Regions from separate parts of the Homo sapiens genome. Here all the other regions are linked to region 1. The links are contacts of gene promoters, found by promoter capture Hi-C in blood cells and fetal thymus (Javierre and others, 2016). All regions are on one chromosome and are shown on one strand. The core of a region is centred on a gene start or on the middle of the fragment in contact, and the rest is flanking DNA. Distances in the headings are between cores, read along the strand shown. Region 1 has its middle 170 kb from the start of TRIM33. Region 2 holds the start of DENND2C (DENN domain containing 2C). Region 3 holds the start of AMPD1 (adenosine monophosphate deaminase 1).

Region 1 (4,115 bases), core at 1,616-4,115:
GCAAGGTGGCACGCACCTGTCATCCAGCTTCTTGAGAGACTGAAGCAGAATTGCTTGAACCCGGGAGGCGGAGGTTGCAGTGAGCCGAGATTGTGCCACTGCATTCCAGCCTGCATGACACAGCGAGACTCTATCTTGGGAAAAATAAATAAATAAATAATAAAAGACACGGTAACTGATTGGATATGGAAAGTAAGTCAAGGAAGCCTCTTGGGATCCTAGCTGAGACAACTGAATGAATGGAGACAAATGTCACCAACTGAGTTGAGGGATGTAAGAGGGATGAAGAAGAAGCATATTCGGTTAGATGACGACTCTAGTTTTGATATGGGGAGCTTGAGCAGCCTGTCGGGTATCCAAGTGGAAATGACTGGAAATCTATTAGAAAAGAGGGAGAGGGATGTAATGAACTTGGTTTGGTTTTGTTCGGTTTCTGCTCTGCATCTTATGAACCTACTTTATATGCCAGAGGCTCTCCCATTGTATGGATTTGGTCGGAGACATCACACCCACTAATTCTCCAAAAGTCCAAAAGGCCAGATACTTACTCTCCATGACATCTGAGGTCATGAGTCACATGACCCAAGTATTGCCAATCAGCTAATTCTGCTCAATGCTTTGTTCATTAGTGAAACAAAAAAGCAGGGGATAGCTGAAATTTCATTCAAATGACGCCAGTGGTAACATCCAGCGTCCTGTGTTGGTCCAAGCAGGAGTATCTGCATCCTGTGGGGGTGGCCATAGTATACCCCACCCCATCCTACCCTGGCTCCTGCTCATTTTCTAAACCTGGTTCTCCAGCCCCACTGCAGTCTCTGTGAGCTATCCAATATCCTCCCTAAATCATTTCCTTTTCTGATTAAGTCATCCAAAGTGGGTTACTGTTGTTTGCACTGAAGAACCCCAACTAGTAAAGAAATTTACAACAAGACAGAGCCACAAGGAAATGGAGAGTTTGCCGGAAGATTGGTTATAAGTCTAGTCAGAATACTAAAATCCAGTTGATATTCAGGGAATCTGGCAGTCAGTGGCTCACAGTGGTAAATTGCTCAAATTAAATGCTCACTTATAGTCACCTGGAATGAAGAATTCATTAAGGCAAAACTTTGAAGACCATATCGCTACTTGCATAGAATGAAATGAAGAGCTTGAGTCATACAGACTGTTGTAAATGTAGCTTTTCCCAAGAGAACAAGAGAGTTAAAAAAAAAAAAAAAAGAAGACAAGCTTAAATCTCTAAATGTCCAACTCAAAGACTTTCCAGTAATGTGCTAAAATGATATCTTATTTACAGTCTTTTAAGGCTAGCATAGCTGAAAGCCAAGCACAGAAGTGCATTGCCAAATTTCAACATCTGCTGAGGTGACATACTGAAGCAGCTACATGGTCCAGGGTATATACCCTGGGGTTCGTCATCTCGCGCCGGGAAAATTTAGGACAGGGAGACACACGAGGAGTTTAGGAGCAGAGATTTAATAGAGAGAAGAGAAGAGAAATAGAAACAGCTCTCTCTCTAGAGAGGGGTCTCCCAACAGAAAATGACCAGCTGGTGGAGGAGGCACTGGGTTTTATAGTCCAGCTTGAGGAGATGTCGCCTGATTTACGTAGGGCTCACAGATTGGTTGGATCAGGTATGATGTTTACACAGCCCCGGGGAAGGCTGGCTACCCTGCCCTAATCTTATTATGTAAATGAACTCTCCTGCTGACCCGTGCCACCTTGTCTCCTTTTTACTGTACACGTGGCTGATAAAGAGAAGGGAAGATGGGGCCACCATTTTGAACATGATTGGCACAACTGCCGGTATCTATCAGCTCAATTTTACAGGCTGCTCTTTGTTAGAAGGGAAAATGATTTGGGGCTGCTTTTCATTAAAAGGAAAATCTTACTGAGGACTTCCCTACCCTCACTATCTGCCTAAGTAATTTCTTAACTTCTATATCAAAACTCCCTAGGTATGTTATATAAAGGATAGGGCATTGTTCAGAAAGGACTGTGGCCCCTACATGGGGCACGATGGCTCACGCCTATAATCCTACACTTTGGGAAGTCAAGGCAGGAGGATCACTTGAGCTCAGGAGTTTAAGACTAGCCTGGACAATATACTGAGACCTCATCTCTACAAAAAAAATTAACTGAGCATGGTGTTGCATACCTGTAGTCTCAGCTATTCAGAAAGCTGAAGTGGGAAGATCACTTAGCCTGGGAGGTTGAGGCTGCAGTGAGCCAAGACTGCACCACTGCACTCCATCCTGGACGACAGAGAAAAACCATGTCCCCGCCCCAAAAAAAGACAGCGACCCCCAAAATTGTAATAAGGACATTTGGGAAGATCTCGGAGACTCATAGAACACCAAACATGGAACCCTCCGGGTCTCTCTTGCCAGCTAAAAGGCATGTCCCTCCCTTGTCTGATGAGGCTGCTCCTGCGTAGTTTGAAGATGCTCTAACTCTGTGCACAGACTTCCTCACAGAAAGAAGCCAGCTCTGCTCATGCCTCTTTCCTCCACGCCGTCACTCATGGCTCATAAGTCTGTAAATAGAGTCAGACTCTCGCATGACCTGGAAGCAGGAAGTGGAGCTTTTGATTACTTAAAAAGTTAAATCCCCACCAAAAGACTCAGATAAGCAGATTCTAAGGTGGAGATTAGCAAGCAAGACCTTTATCAGGAAGTGAGCTTGAGACCACCCCTGTGGAGCAGAAGGGACAGAAGCAGCCTTGGGCAAGGAAGCAGTTGTGCTGTGCGCACAATTAGCATAGCTCTGGAGCTAGATGGTCATTTAGAGCTCTTCTGAGTTGGAACCAAGGAGCCAGCCTTTGTTAACCCAACTTTGACCAGTCGTTGGATGTGGCTGCTTCATGATGGGGACATGACCTTGGGCTAGGGACATTTCTTCACTCAAGGCATCCCCAGAGTGAGCTGCTGGCTGAGGGCCCACTCCCAGCAGCTGGGAGAGTAAGTCCTTCATTTCTGAGAGGGGATACAGTGGTGCACCACAGTGTCCAGCACCGTGCATTATTTTAAATCAGCCTGAAATTAATCAGGAGTATGCTCACCAGAAATCAGGAGACAGTGTGCTATCTCCAGCCATTGCAAGTGGCCCTAATTGCTGCCTGTCAGTTGTTTTGAAATGTGGGCTCAACAGTGGCTCATGTGAAATGAAATTCCATGAAACAATGGAAGAAATAATCCAAAAATTTCGGAATATAGAAGTGCTGGAGAGGATTTATCATGTGTCACCTACCCATTCATCTGCTAATTCTCTCTCAAGAGGGCCCAGAAGAGGGCCCAGATTGGTGAGGGAGCACCTCTATCTCTGAGAAGCAGTCTTGTGACTGATTTCCGTAAACTAAAGATGCAATTGTAAGCAGTTGAAATGGGATCCCTGATTTTAATGGAAAAGGAAAGATACCAGAATAGCAGAAGCTGATTTCAGGCACTTAACTACAAAAGACAAGATAATCATGGTAGTTATAATAGACAAGAGGGCTGGAATGGTAATAAAAATGATCCAACCTGACTTGATGGGGGCTAACTGATGAAGTCTGGGGTAGAAATTGAAGTTCTCCATCAATATCCACTCTCTTGTTCTCTCTAACCCAGCCTCCTTTCAGCTGATATGGTTATATAACCAGCTCTGGCCAATGAAGTGAAAGAAGAAAGGTGGGCTATCTTCATCCATTGTGCTGCTATAACAAAATACCTGAGACCGGGTAACTTGTGAAGAACAGGAATTTATTTATCACAGTTCTGGAGGCTGGGAAGTTCAAGATCAAGGCACCAGTAGGTTTGCTGTCAGTGAGGGCTGCTCTCTGCTTCCAAGATGGTGCCTTGTTGCAGCATCCTCCAGAGGTGAAAAATGCTATGTCCTCACATGACAGAAGGGCAAAAAAGGGCCAGACTCTCTGTGAAGGCTCTTTTATGAAGGCTTTATTCCTATTCACAAGGGAGAAGCCCTCATGATCTAAGCATCTCCCAAAAGGCCCCACCTCTTAATACTGCCACTATGAGGATTAAGTTTCAATATGTAAATGTTGGAGGGGACACCATCACTCAAACCACAGCATGGGTCATCTCCAGGACATGCCCTTAAAGGAGGTGGGGAGGATACCA
Region 2 (3,977 bases), core at 469-2,968, 330 kb after region 1:
TTCCCTCTACTACTTCATTTAATTTGATCTTGGTATCCAGTGGTCTAAAATTCTTGCCTATAACTTAAGACTCACTACAGACCATTTAAAAGTAATATAATTTCCAGCTTTAGAAAACTGCTTATTGTCATTAAGAAAAATAAATATTCTTCCTTTATTGCTGCATTTAAAAAACGTACTGCCACATTCAACACACACACACACACACACACACACACACACACCCCAACTAATGAAAGACCAAGACACATAATTACTACATTTCCTGGTTTCTGCCTGGCAAACTCAGAACAGGCCTACAAGTATCCCCAGCAAAAGCCTACAGGTTACAAAACTGCCATTTTCTTTTTTATTTCCCATCTCCCCGCTAAAATCCCTCGCACACATATCCATAGTAAAGAACAAAAACGTCTATAATAAAGGCTGTATGAAAAAATATGGCTATATATTAACAATATTTTGGAAGATTTAAATCTTCCTATAAGCAGCCCGTCAATTCACAAAAACAAATTAAAGTCTTGATTTGGAACAATATTCCCAGCTTACTTTAGCAGGTATCTTAAACTACAACTATTTAGCTAAGACAAAGAAGTAGATTATTTGATTGCTACAGACTTCGCGGTAAATGATTCAGCAACAGTGTATAGATAACACCACTGTGCTATTCTAGAAAATTTCATCAATCATTTAAAAATAGGACACACTCAAACAATGGGGGTCACTTTGTGGGAAAAGTTTAAACAACTTATTTACACAGTAAGCAAGGATCTATCACTTTATCTAAAACACTGCAGAAGAATCACTAGCTTTAGGGTAAACGTTTGTAAAGTGCCTACTATGTACCAGGCAAGTAGTAGTTGCTTCACAGAATATACACGCTCCACACGCACGTTCAAATATCTGACATTTGTAGAATACTGTCACTCATCTGATTTGACCCTGAGAATACCCATAGGCATGAACTTGCCAGTTTCACAGTTACGGAAAGAGAGGCCCAGGAAGTTAATTTGGCCGAGGTATCACATCTGGTTCCGCGGGTTCTGGCCCTAGACTTGAGCCTTTTGACTCATAATCTAATCATCAGCTGCTATACAGCTCTAGTTACTCAAAAGCTCTTAGGTGTTCCACTGTCAGACTTTTAAATTAAAATTCTACTTGACAACTTTCGGTATTGTGCGTATTAGATGCTGTTAAGAATCAAAACACCAAAAAAAGCAAAATATTGTTTGGAAGTGCATCGTCCCAGCATGTCGAAGTTCAAGCTCACTGGCTAATTTTGGAGAAAGCCCGCGTTTCCCCAGGCTGCCGGGCGCTCCCTCCCTCTTCCCCAGCAGAGAGCGGCGCCCAGCCTAGGGGTCCCCAAGCCCCTGAGGTAGCGAGGAGGTCTTCAGCCAGGCTCCGCCACAACCCGTGCGGCCACGAGAGGACGTCCCAAAGCTGGGCCCAACAACCGGTTGCTCCTCCGGACGGAGGAGGTGCCGAGACAGCGGGGCGCGGAGACACCACCTCCGCCAGCTCGGCTCGCACCGTCCGAGGACTACGCCGCGGCGCCACAGCCCCGCACCCGACGCCCAGAAGGGTGATGCCGACAGCCCCGAGAGTCCGAAGCCCCTGCGGCTTAAAACCCCGCGCCGAATCACCCCGACTCTTACCTGTCTGTACCTCAACGTTGTCTCCTGTGGCCAAGCTAGTCTCCCGGGTATCACTCGGGTCCGCTCCGTCCCGCCCCCGCAGGCCCTGCCGAAGGCCCCGTCCCGGCTGCAGCCCCACCCCCTAGCCCCGCCCTCCCTGGCAAGGCTCAGTTCTTATTGGCTCCTATTCCCACCCCTCACGCTATGCCCGCCTCCGACACCGCCCCGGCCGGCGGTGAGGGGAACCACCACGCCTCAAGTCCGCTGTATGGCCAGAACCTTGCCAGGACCTCGGTCACTGCAGTTCCAGCAGGCGGGCGACCAGTGTCACCGTCGTCCGGCCAAGCCCTCGAGCCAGAGCTCCATCGCCTTCGCCTGCCGTCGCATCGGCCCCACGGAGACGGCCCTATGCTTCATGTGAAGGTTTACTCTTCACAACTACTCAACAAGATAAAGCCTGGCTTAATCAGGGAATCCAAGCACTGTTTCCTAGGCTGACCTCAGTGAGCAAACAATTGCACTACGGTGCCAACTTGAAACGTCAAGAGAAGCAAATAACTCTCGCGGCACCTCAGGCTTGGAATCTCAGAACGGGGGTGCCTTGATACTCCCAGTGCGTGAGGTCAGCCCCCACGCCCTGTTGAGACACACATGCCTAAGCGCTCCGCCTGCAACACGCTCTTGCTTAGGTATGTGCGTGGTGTTGTGCCTACTGCAAGCTGTAACCCAGTTTCACCGAGGCTGCGGGACAAGGATCAGTTGAGCCTGTTTCCCAGGCACTCGCTAACCACCCCACCCCGCCTCGCCCCGCCCCACCCCACCCCACCCCACCCAGCCAGAGCCTCTTGGGTCTGGTGACCAAACTCTTCCTACATTTGTTCACACAGAGGTACCAAAATAGAAGACTACCAGAAAGAGAGGTGTTTAGTTACGTATCACGGATGACTGTCACAAGCAAACTTAACCCAAACAATAAAGGTAGCATATCCCAAACCGTTGTGAAACTATCACCTGTAGACAGTAAAACAGAAATTACATTCTATGATGGGGGAAAAAAAAGTAATGACATACTTAAAAAAAATCATGTCCCAATGAGGAAATAAATGTGGATATTGTTTGTAGTAAATTTTGCACACTGATCATTATGGGCTTCCCCCACCAAAAAAAAAAAAATTCTTATATAATGTGTCTATCTATTTATTTATTGAGACAGGGTCTCTTTGTGTCACTCACACTGGAGTGCGGTGGCCCAATCATAGCTCACTTGAAGTCTCAACTTCCTAGGCTCAAAGAATCGTCCCACCTCGGCCTCCCAAGCAGCTAGTATTATAAGCATGCACCACCACCCCCGGCTAATATTTTTATTTTTATTTTTTTGTAGAGACAGGGTCTCGCTATGTTGCCCAGGCTGGTCTCCAACTCCCGAGCTCAAGCAGTCCTCCTGCCTCAGCCTCCCAAAGTGCTGGGATTACAGACATGAGCCACTGCACCCAGCCCAGAAATGTATTTTTTGACCCCTGCATTCAGGAAGATTATTTGGCAAAATAAGGCAGGTTGAATTCCAAGTATCACGTATGAAACCAAATTTATAGATTAATAAATGAATTCACATGTATGTATTCTACTGCCCTCTCATGGGTAAGATGGAGATATACATAATGGTAGTTAATGCCCTTTGAAGTCTGAGAATACAGTGTTTAATGTAGCAATTTGTACTATTTTGATGATGAGGAGGCCAAGGTAAAATAAAATCTGGTTCTTTAAAGGGTTCACAAATACTCAACAAACAAAACTTCAACTTCAGAAATCAGGAAGAGATTCTTACACCAGAGCTAGTACAAACATGCCATCAGGGTTACACCTATGCTTATGGCTGCATGTGTAGAATATAGAAACGTGCAGAAATTTGCTTTCAATTTTTTTTCCATTTGAAAGTTCAGGCTGGGCACAGTGGCTCACGCCTGTAATCCCAGTACTTTGGGAGGCCAAGGCACATGGATCGCTTGAGCATAGGAGTTTGAGACCAGCTGGGGTGACATGGTGAAACCGCGTCTCTACAAAAGGTTCAAAAAAGTAGCTGGGTGTGGTGGCATGTGCCTGTAGTCCTGGCTACTCGGAAGTCTGAGGTAAGAGGATCACCTGAGCCTGGGAGGCCGAGGCCGCGGTGAACTGTGATTACACCACTGCACTGCACTCCAGCCTGGGTGACAGAGCAAGACCCTGTCTCAAAAAAAAGAAAAAAGTTCATTACTTTTGAAGACATTTCACAAAATTCTATTTTTTACTTGTAGCCACACTATAACTTCATGCTGAGGACAACTAGAGGATAGGAATGAAATCTTATTC
Region 3 (4,300 bases), core at 162-2,661, 360 kb after region 1:
GAACCCGGGAGGTGGAGCTTGCAGTGAGCCAAGATCGCACCACTGCACTCCAGCCTGGGTGACAGAGCGAGACTCTGTCTCTAAAAAAACAAAAACAAAAACAAAAACGAACAAACAAAAAAAAACCCCCAAACCATAAAGAACCTAAGGGATTAATTAAGAAAATAGAATATGCAGTCTTTTAAAATGGTTTTTAGGAAAGGTTTGGGATACCATGGTAAAAGGATAAGTTGTAAAGTTAAGCCAAAACATTATCCTGCCAAAAGCAGGATATAAAATTACATGTGCAATATAATAACAGTGCCTTTTTAAAAAAAACTCTTTAATTTTACACAGAAAATAGATTGAAAAGAAAAAAAAACACTAAAATGTTAAGAGTGAATATCTTTGGATAATGGATGTGCAGATTTTTAAAATTATTACTTTTGGCTGGGTGCAGTGGCTAACACTTGTAATCCCAGCACTTTGGGAGGCTGAGGCAGGCAGATTGCTTGAGCTCAGGAGTTTAAGATGAGCCTGGGCAACATAGCGAAACCCTGTCTCTACAGAAAATACAAAAACTAGCTGGGCGTGGTGGCAAGTGCCTGTAGTCCCAGCTACTCGGGAGGCTGAGGTGGGAGGATCACCAGATCCCAGAAGATTGGGGCTGCAGTGAATCGTGATCGTGCCACTGCACTCCAGCCTGGGCAACAGAGTGACACCCTGTCTCAAAAAATAAATAAATAAGTAAAAAATAAAATTATTACTTTTACTGAATTTCCCAACTTTCAAAACGAATGTTTATTACTTTTATTTTTTCAGCACAATTTCTATTTCACATGAAACATGTATTGCTTTTATCATTTAAAAATTATAACATTATTATTTTAAAAATTACTCTGCGTACAAACCTGGACAACAGAAAGCTATTCTCGTGAACCATCAGAATACACACATGGGTTATTTTTGTCATGTTCATGATTTTCAGCCAATACCATAGCTAGAGTCATTATGTAGAAGCCGTCTCAGAGCTATGGCAGCACAGGTTTTGTTTAGACTAGCAGAATAGATATTAAATATTTCACAGAGTTTTCTACTGGGATCATCAAAGATGCAATATACATGATAACAGTTTTAGAAACTTACCCACATCCCAAAACTAAAAACAAACAAAAAACCCTTGAAAATATTTTGTGTTTTCCTGAAATGTATGTTAAAGCTATCACGAACCCTAAATGAATGATCAAAGCTGATATGGTAGCTAAAGGAACAGTTGCTTGTCAAAAAAAAAAAAAAACAACAACAACTGAGCTCTCCAAACACTTTGTACACCTACCTGGGAGTTTGAACAGAGGCATTGTTGCTGAAATCCTTGATTCTAGGATAGCACAGTAGAAAAGAAGAGAGAGGAGACTGTGGGGTGACTGACTGACACTATAAAATATCCTGACATTCATTTTATTATTTTGCTTTGCCCCCGGAAATTTGATTCTTCTCTGCTAAGTGGAGAGAGATGAGCTTTGGACCTATTTATAGCTTGAGGCATTTGATAGTGAAAAACAGGTGAAGCTTTCAGTCTTTACTTTGGGATTAGAAGATATCTGTGGTGGGCCAAAAATTGCATTTCAATACTCTCTAAATCTTCTTACAGACTGGATCTTTGGCAAGTGTAGGACCACTGATGGTGATATCCCACCCTAGTGAAATACAGTGAAGTCTTTCCGGTTTCTGAAGCTATGATCCTCAGGGTTTCACATCACGCAAACAGCTTTCTGTGGTTGGTGAATATGCTGGTACATTCATCAAGCTCTCAACAGACACACACGCACACGCACACACGCTCAGGAATGCATGTTTTTATTAGTAATGTGTCTGACTTAGCAGAACTTCAGTTGACAGTTTAATGAATTAAGTGTTAAATTTACTTCAAGTCTTTTACAGAAACTCAACTGTCCTCCAGAGTATCCAGTTACCACTTCTCTACCTATTGTTATAATAAGAACAATAGCTTTGTTTTGTATAACATTTTATTGTATGTAAAACATTTGGCAAACATTATCTATTTGATACTAATTACAATCCTGTAAGGCAAGTAATACCTTATCCCTGTTTCCCAAATAAGAAAACTGGGGCTCTGACAGGTATCTTGCTCAAAGTCATTCTGTTCATCATAAATGGCAAAGCCAAGGCTCTCTGGACCCAAATCTCACGCTCTTTCCATAATAACACACAGTCTTAGTTATGACTGTATATATGTGTGTGTATATATATGTATATATGTATATATATGTGTATATACATATATTTTTTTCGAGACAGAGTCTCGCTCTGTTGCCCGGGCTGGAGTGCAGTGGCGCGATCTCGGCTCACTGCAAGCTCTGCCTCCCGGGTTCACGCCATTCTCTTGCCTGAGCCTCCCGAGTAGCTGGGACTACAGGCGCCTGCCACCATGCCCGGCTAATATTTTTTGTATTTTTAGTAGAGATGTGGTTTCACTGTGTTAGCCAGGATGGTCTTGATCTCCTGACCTCATGATCCACCTGCCTTGGCCTCCCAAAGTGCTGGGATTACAGGCGTGAGCCACTGCGCCCGGCCAGTTATGACTAAATATTTGATAGTTGCTGCTAGGTAAAGAAAGTACGCTGCTAGACTCAGCAGAAATTTTAAATTATAACAGCTTATATTGAAGATGAGCTTGGCACTTCAGATTAGCAACAGAATTATGGGCATAGACCAAATGATCTTTTTACTATTAACTATTTCTTTTTGAAAATTGGGACAAGCCTTTTTGTTGGCAAAACTTAACAATATTTTAGTGCTTAGCCTTATGGCCAACCTCTCAATCAACAATATTGCAACACATTACAAAGGTGTTACTGAACCAAAATATTTGTTCATTTCTTTCCAACTCCTTTTTGTTACATTTTTACCTGGATTTCCCAACAGTATCCACAAATTGATACATCCAAACCAAGCATCTTCCTCCATGAACCTGCTTCTCCTTCAGTAATTCCTATCTTTATATAAGTTACACTCCAATTTTCTCATTCCAATTGTGTAAATACCCTAGTTGCCTACCCAAAGATCATTTTCCCTACCTTTCTTACAAACAAAAACTTCTTTGGTTTGAGCATTAATGTGCTCAGCCAAAAAACAGCATTTGCTAGAATCCTTTGTGGCTAGAAGCGGCCATTTGACACAGCCTGGCCAAAGTGATGTAAGCAGAATTGCTGGGTGGGATGTCTCCAAAAGTTCTTTTAAAAGGGACCAGCTCAGCTGGCATATGTTTTGCCTTTTGCCCTTCCTCTTCTTCCTGCCTGAAAAAGGAAATATGTGGATAGGGGCCTCCAAACCAACCATTGTTTTAACACAAATGGTGAGCAGGACAAGAGCCACATGAAGACTATCTGAACAGAAACAAATAATTAGGGTCCCTGATGGCATCCTAAAGCCACCATATTAGTCCAGGACTTCCCATATTTAGAATTCTTGTTTAATTAAGGAATTTTTTTAAGAGACAGGGTCTCACTATGTTGCTCAGGCCAGGGTGTAGTGGTTATTGACAGGAGTGATCCTACTACTAAAATCAGCACAGGAGTTTTGACCTGCTCTGTTTCAGACCTGGGCTAGTTCACTCCTTAGGCAACTTGGTGGTCCCCCGCTCCTGGAGGGTCACCCTGTTGATGTTGAAATTAGTGTGGACACTTGATCAGCATAGATTGCTATAGCCCAGAACTCCTGGACTCAAGTGATCCTCCTACCCAAGCCTCCTGAGTAGCTGGGAGTACAAACATGCATCACCATACCCAGCAAGACTTCTTGATACATAAGAAAAATGGTTGGGCGCAGTGGCTCATGCCTGTAATCCCAGCACTTTGGGAGGCCGAGGCAGGCAGATCACGAGGTCAAGAGATCGAGATCATCCTGGCCAACATGGTGAAACCCCGTCTCTACTAAAAATACAAAAATTAGCTGGGTGTGGTGGTGCATGCTTGTAGTCCCAGCTACTCGGGAGGCTGAGGCAGGAGAATCACTTGAACTCGGGAGGTGGAGGTTGCAATGAGCTGAGATCACACCACTGCACTCCAGCCTGGTGACAAAGCAAGACTCCATCTCAAAAAAAAAAAAAAAAAAAAAGGGAAAAGTAAATTTGTTTTAGTCACTGATTAGTCAGTTTTTTTTATTATTAGAAGCCAATGTAATTCTACCTGATAAGTCATGAGTTACCTCAAAGTTGGATAATTGTAATAGATTCCTAATTATTTCCCCTGCCTCCAATCCATATTGCATAATACCACCAGGTTAAATCTTCTGAAAAACC

What was found. Contacts are between HindIII fragments. The CHiCAGO score rates a contact against its expected background, and 5 or more counts as called.
Region 2: a contact is called between the fragment with the promoter of DENND2C here and a fragment that was not itself captured in region 1, in 15 of 17 cell types (naive B cells, total B cells, erythroblasts and 12 more). The highest score is 11.0, in naive B cells.
Region 3: a contact is called between the fragment with the promoter of AMPD1 here and a fragment that was not itself captured in region 1, in 2 of 17 cell types (total B cells and erythroblasts). The highest score is 7.1, in total B cells.

Annotation. Positions count from the first base shown.
Region 1 is chr1:114,337,047-114,341,161 of GRCh38, forward strand. No RefSeq gene overlaps it. Among named protein-coding and RNA genes, the nearest start is that of TRIM33, 170 kb to the right of the region's middle. The HindIII fragment of the contact is 3,280 bases long and covers 1,226-4,115 here.
Region 2 is chr1:114,668,331-114,672,307 of GRCh38, forward strand. DENND2C (DENN domain containing 2C) reads right to left here and starts at 1,719. Exons shown (of 21, transcript NM_001256404.2): 1 at 1,653-1,719. LOC124904354 (a long non-coding RNA gene) reads left to right here and starts at 2,081. Exons shown (of 2, transcript XR_007066465.1): 1 at 2,081-2,320; 2 at 2,519-2,624. RefSeq lists a silencer at 1,723-1,812 and an enhancer at 1,933-2,092. The HindIII fragment of the contact is 6,814 bases long and covers 1-3,977 here.
Region 3 is chr1:114,694,135-114,698,434 of GRCh38, forward strand. It overlaps AMPD1 (adenosine monophosphate deaminase 1), which reads right to left and starts at 1,412. Exons shown (of 16, transcript NM_000036.3): 1 at 1,316-1,412. The coding sequence starts at 1,337. It also overlaps the pseudogene RN7SL432P. The HindIII fragment of the contact is 1,819 bases long and covers 1-1,546 here.